Regions from separate parts of the Homo sapiens genome. Here region 1 is linked to region 2. Evidence: promoter capture Hi-C in human tissues and cell types (Jung and others, 2019). All regions are on one chromosome and are shown on one strand. Each heading gives the region's core, a stretch centred on a gene start or on the middle of the fragment in contact. The rest is flanking DNA. Distances are from core to core; before and after follow the strand shown.

Region 1 (2,953 bases), core at 18-2,517, 180 kb after region 2:
AAAAGGAAAAGAAAAAAAATATGGGTCTTGAATAGGAGCCTTTGTGTCCTACAATGAAATTAAGAGGCAGCTTAGGCTAAAATTCCAGGTGGATTTTTAGTTTGAGCTGTTGTATTTTCCAGTCTAACAGGCCCAGTATTAACAGTGACACCCACTAGTGAGTCGTAGACTACTTATGTTCTTAAAACCTGCCCCTAAACAGTATAAACCCTTTTTCAAGTCATCTTATCCTGACACAGTAGTGAGAGAACCAGGTTTCATTCCTGATATTAGGAGTGCAAAATAATAAGAATTATAATATGAGCTCCCATTTACTGATGATTTGTGGTGCTAGGCACTATGATAAGCATTTTACTAAACTTTGATCTCTCTTACCCTTACCTCAGCCTTGAGAGAACAGTAATGTAAGTTCCATTTATGGATGAGGATTTGTTTTTTTTAACAGCTATAAAACTTGAGATTCAGTTGAAGGTACCCAGGAAGAAGCAGAGCCAGGCCCATGGAACTGGAATGCCCAGGCTTTTTTTTTACAGTGCCAGCCTGTTTCCACAGTAAATATGGGACAAGGAGCTATGAATCAATGTCATAACCGTATCAAAAACATGAGGACCAGGGATTGTGACATAAGAGCTAACATTTCTTGAGCACTTACCAAGTGCTAGGCACTGTTCTAAGTGCTTTCTATATATTATCAAATCCTCAGAGTAGGCCGTGTTGTAGAAGGGATATAATTATGATCCCCATTTTACTGATGAGGAAACTGAAGCAAAAAGAGGTTAAATATCCCACACAGATCACCCAGCTAGTGGCCAAGCCCTCAAATTGAAGGGCTGACACCAGAGCTCACCCTCCTAAGCAGGCGGCAGGGCTCAGGAGCATCACACCAGGGCCCATCCTGCAGTCATCTAAAATGCTGCAGACACACCTTTCCCACACTCACTTTCCCTTCCCAAGTTAGACTTCTCTCTGTAGTTTCTTCTGAATCATCACTGAAAATCAGCTAGATTCTTCCTCACTGAAGGGAGGAGTGTGGGGCCCTTTCATTATTTTTTTACTTTAGGGACTTAGGTTTTTGAAAGAACGTCATTCCTTTGAGCTCTTTCCTTCCTGCATCTCAGAGAAAAGCTCTGGTGTGAGGCTTTAAAATTTCCAGGGCCCTCTTGTATTTTCGGTTGATTATACATCACTTTTGTTATTCATCACCTGTCACTTTTGCTGTTCTTCACACAACAGCTGTGGAGAAATTCCATGCCAGCCACTTAATTCCTCGGTGACCCCAATCAAGCTTTCTGTATGAAATGGGAGTAATGACTAGACCTGACACTGGTGTTAAAAGGATGAGGGGAAGCTATGGAAGGTCCCTGCAGAGCTGATAGGACCATGTCCGAGTCCCCTCTAGCAGGGTCACTCCTCTGTGTTGAGACAGACATGAGAGTGAAGGAAACTTGCTGGTGAGCCCAACTGCTGTCCAGCAGGATGTAAACTCTGCCTCAGCTCCTTATTAGTTCTGTGACATTTTGCAGATTGCTGAACTTGCCCCATTGAGTTAGCTTGGCCCCTTTATTAAAAATCAATTGACCCTAAATTGGCGGGTTCACTTCTTGATTCTGTCTGCTCCGTCTGTTTCTGTGTCTATCCTTAAGCCAATACCACACTGTCTTGCTTACTGTAGCTTTATAATAAATCTTAAAATCAGTTCATGTGAGTTCTCTGACTTTGTTGTTCTTTGCATTTCTGTATCAGTGTTAGAATCAGCTTATGAATATCTAGAAATAAAAGCCTCTGGCTTTTGAGTGAGGTTCATGGAATCTGTAGATCAATTTGGGGAGAACTGACATCTGAACAACAGTTGAAGCATTCAATCCAGAACATGTTAAAATTTTCCTTTATTAAGATCTTTTTCAGTTTCTCTCAGTAGCAATGTTTTTTAGTGTTCAATTTACAAGACGTGCATGTTTTAATCTATTTTTGTAAAGTGGTATTGTTTTTTAAATTTCATCTTCCAGTTGTGTATTGCTAGTCTCTAGAGATGCAGTTGGTCTTTGTGTTGTGACCTTGTATCCTGTGACCTTGTAAAAACTCATTTGTTAGTCTGGCAGCTTTTTAAATATATTTTTTCAGATTTTCCACATATACAATCATATCATCTCTGAATACAGTTTTTCTTCCTTTCATATTTATCTGCCTCTCTTTTTCTTGTCTCACTGCACTGACTAGCATCTTCAGAATGATGCTGAATGGTTAGAGTGGACATCATTGCCTGGTTCTGGACATTAGCTGTAGGTTTTTCGTAGAGTAGGTTGAGGAAATAAATTCTCCTCTGTTCCTGTTTGCTGAGAGTTTTTGTCATGAATGGGTGTTGAATTTTGTCAAATGCTTTTCCTGTGTCTGTTGAGATAATCATTTGGTATTTCTCCTTAATTTTGTTAATATAGTGAAATAAATTCACTTTTCAATGTAAACCAACCTTGCATTCCTAGGATAAACTCCAGTTGGGGTTTCTATTTTTTATTAAAGATTTTAATTCTTATTAAATATTTATATGTTCATAAGGAATATTTGTCTGGAGTTTTATTTAATGTTTTTGTCTGGTTTTGTCATTAGGGAATGCTGGCCTCGTAAAATGAAGTGAGAAGTGTTCCCTCTTGTTTTCTTGAGGACTTTGTATATGATTGTTCTTTGATTAAGTCTTTAGTTCCCTAGTGAAGTCACGCAGACCTGAAATTTTCTTTGCAGGAAATTAATTGTGAATTCTTTTTCTTTTCTAGATATGGAGCTATGCAAATTTTCTAATTTTTCGTGTGTCTGTTGTTATAATTTGTGTCTTTCAAGTAATATATCCATTTCATCTTAAGTATGTTGATATAAGGTTGTTTGTATTCTTTTAATATTTATAAGATATGTAGAGATGTTTCATTTTCATTCCTGATGTACGTCATTTCTTTTTCCCACT
Region 2 (2,700 bases), core at 156-2,655:
GCCAAAATCACCTTGTGCCCCTGGAACTCAGTGTCATTAATGTAAATTGATACATCACAAAATAAATTCTGCTGTCTCAAAAGATTCATTTTCTGCAAGACCACATCTCCTTGCTGTTCAAACTGGAAATGCAGAACATCAGACTCAGCAGCCATGATCACAATCTAAGCAAAATAAAACACAAACATTGATGTAATAAGGATAGGGAATGCTTTCCCATGCTGTAATGGTGAAAACAAACGAAAAACCCCAAACCTGAATTAGGAAGAAGAAGACTCAAAGTCTAATGTAGGTGTTATGAACCTTTATGCCACCATCTCAAAACGAGAACTTTATAATGCACTTCTCTATGATCTCATAGCACATTTTTCATAACTTTGTTACAACATTCATTACAATGAATTGTAGTGAACAGTTTCTAGCTTGTTTCTTTTGCTAAATGTTGTGTGCCTTGTGGTCAAGAACAATCTATCAATTTTGAATATCCAATATAAGCACTGTGACCACCAAAAAGTTGATTTAACATAATATATCCAATTAGCAACTTTAACGTAATCTCCAAACTTCCTACTCCCCACCACTACAACAGGTCCTCCTTCCGGTTCACCTGGACAACTGCAATGTCTTCCAACAGGTCTTCTTTATACCACACTCTTCTGTATGCCAGATTACCCGCCTGAGTGCCACCAGGATTAACAACCCTTATTTTATTTTATTTTTAATTTCCCTTTTCTGCTTTAAATCTTCTATCGTTCTTCTCTACCTCCGGGACAGTCCAGATTTCTTAGGAAAGAATACGAGACCCATCACGATTTGGCTCTAACCCATCTTTATGGCTTTATCACCTTCTATTCTCTTTTTCATACTCGAACCTCGTTCAATACTAAATTTTTCCATCATTACCCAGACAAAAAGACACGAATACACATTTCTTACATTCGCGTTTCCAGTTCCTTTTTTCAGCTAGTGATTAGGCTCCTTTAAGCCCAAATCAAGTAAAACTAATATGACTCCACCTCCCGTTTCAACCAGAGAGAGTCAGCTGCTCTCTGAGCACCGCGAGATGGTGCCTGATGCATCTGTGTTCCTGCACCGAGCTCAGGGGCCCACACAGAGCAGGAGGAGCTCAGGGAACATCTGCTGAACTGAAACCGGATGCCAGGTTCAGCACACAGGTATTCTGGAGGCAACCCTGCGAAGGGCCAAGGCCCTGTCGGCCCAGTGGTTGCAGCACAAGATTAGCCACTCCGGGGCCGAGCCCAGCTGTCCTCCTCCTCCTCCTCCTCTTCCTCAGGCACCCTCCACCTGAGGAATCTACTTTGCACTCACTCACCGACTCAGAAAACTAGAGTCAAGGATTCCGCGGCAGCGTCTGCCCAAGCCGGAAGATGGACTTAGCCTGGAAGAAAACACATCCGGTGCCAACCAGCTTTATTCTTTACTGGGGCCCTCTAGGCGCCCCGGAAGGACATTCTGAGACGGTCTTCCTTCCTCACTTCCCCCCTCTTGGAATGACAGAAAGGCTCCTGAATGCCGGCAAGCCCCATCTCTCTTGTCCCAGTTTCGGCACTCGAGCCGTTTTCCCCCACCATCCCTTTTTTTTTTTAAGACGGAGTTTCGCTCTTGTTGCCCAGGCTGGAGTGCAATGGCGCGATTTCGGCTCACTGCAACCTTCGCCTCCCGGGTTCAAGCGACTCTCGCTCCGCAGCCTCCCAAGTAGCTGAGATTACAGGCGCCCGCCACCACGCCCGGCTCATTTTTGTATTTTTAGTAGAGACGGGGTTTCACCATGTTGGCTAGGCTGGTATCGAACTCCTGACCTCAGGAGATCCGCCCGCCTCGGCCTCCCTAAATGCTGGGATTACCGGGTTGAGCCACCGCGCCCAGCCGAGCCATTTCCTTTTGTGAGTCCTCCTGAACATCCGAATTGGAGACGGGGTTTGAGGTTCGGTTACGGCACGTCTGTCAGAGTAACCAGACCTTTTATGGATTATTCTGGGACGATTCCTCTCCTTATTGGGGCCACCTACAACTTGAAAGGTGGCAGAGCAGAAACTATCATAAAGATCCGTATTCGAGATTGCCTAGATAATGCCCCATCAGGAGATGGCCCCAACCTCTGGATCTAGCTTCACACTTAAATGCGTTCCTCCATCCCAAAACTTTTGGCCCAGCTGTTTCCTCTGACGTGCCCTAGCCTTTTCCCCAGGCTTTTTTTTTTTTTTTTTGAGACGGAGTCTCTCTCTGTCGCCCAGGCTGGAGTGCAGCGGCAGGATCTCGGCTCACTGCAAGCTCCGCCTCCTGGGTTCACGCCATTCTCCTGCCTCAGCCTCCCGAGTAAGCTGGGACTTCAGGTGCCCGCCACTTCGCCTGGCTAATTTTTTTTTTTTTGTATTTTTAGTAGAGACGGGGTTTCACCGTGTTAGCCAGGATGGTCTCGATCTCCTGACCTCGTGATCCGCCCGCCTTGGCCTCCCAAAGTGCTGGGATTACAGGCGTGAGCCACCGAGCCCGGCCTTCCCCAACGTATCTTTAAAGAACCCGTTTATAAATCTCATCATCCTGAAGCCATCCTGAACTGCCCTAAGATAATTGGTTCCCAGTTTGAAACCTGTAATCCCTTTTCCTGCCTTCATTATTGCACTTAACACGCCTGTATTAATTTGTGCCTCATCTAGGCAGAGTTATTTAGGACAGTGG

The links. The method cuts DNA at HindIII sites, captures the fragments that hold promoters and counts their contacts. A contact is called where the count stands out against the background at its distance.
Region 1: a fragment that was not itself captured here is called in contact with the fragment with the promoter of ZBTB6 in region 2 in 1 of the 25 tissues and cell types used here (bladder).

The regions. Positions count from the first base shown.
Region 1 is chr9:123,092,041-123,094,993 of GRCh38, forward strand. The region is part of intron 21 of RABGAP1 (RAB GTPase activating protein 1); the gene reads left to right. Among named protein-coding and RNA genes, the nearest start is that of MIR600, 18 kb to the right of the region's middle. The HindIII fragment of the contact is 4,152 bases long and covers 1-2,953 here.
Region 2 is chr9:122,911,918-122,914,617 of GRCh38, forward strand. It overlaps ZBTB6 (zinc finger and BTB domain containing 6), which reads right to left and starts at 1,406. Exons shown (of 2, transcript NM_006626.6): 1 at 1,334-1,406; 2 at 1-164. The coding sequence starts at 155. RefSeq lists enhancers at 1,121-1,230, 1,241-1,470. The HindIII fragment of the contact is 16,169 bases long and covers 1-2,700 here.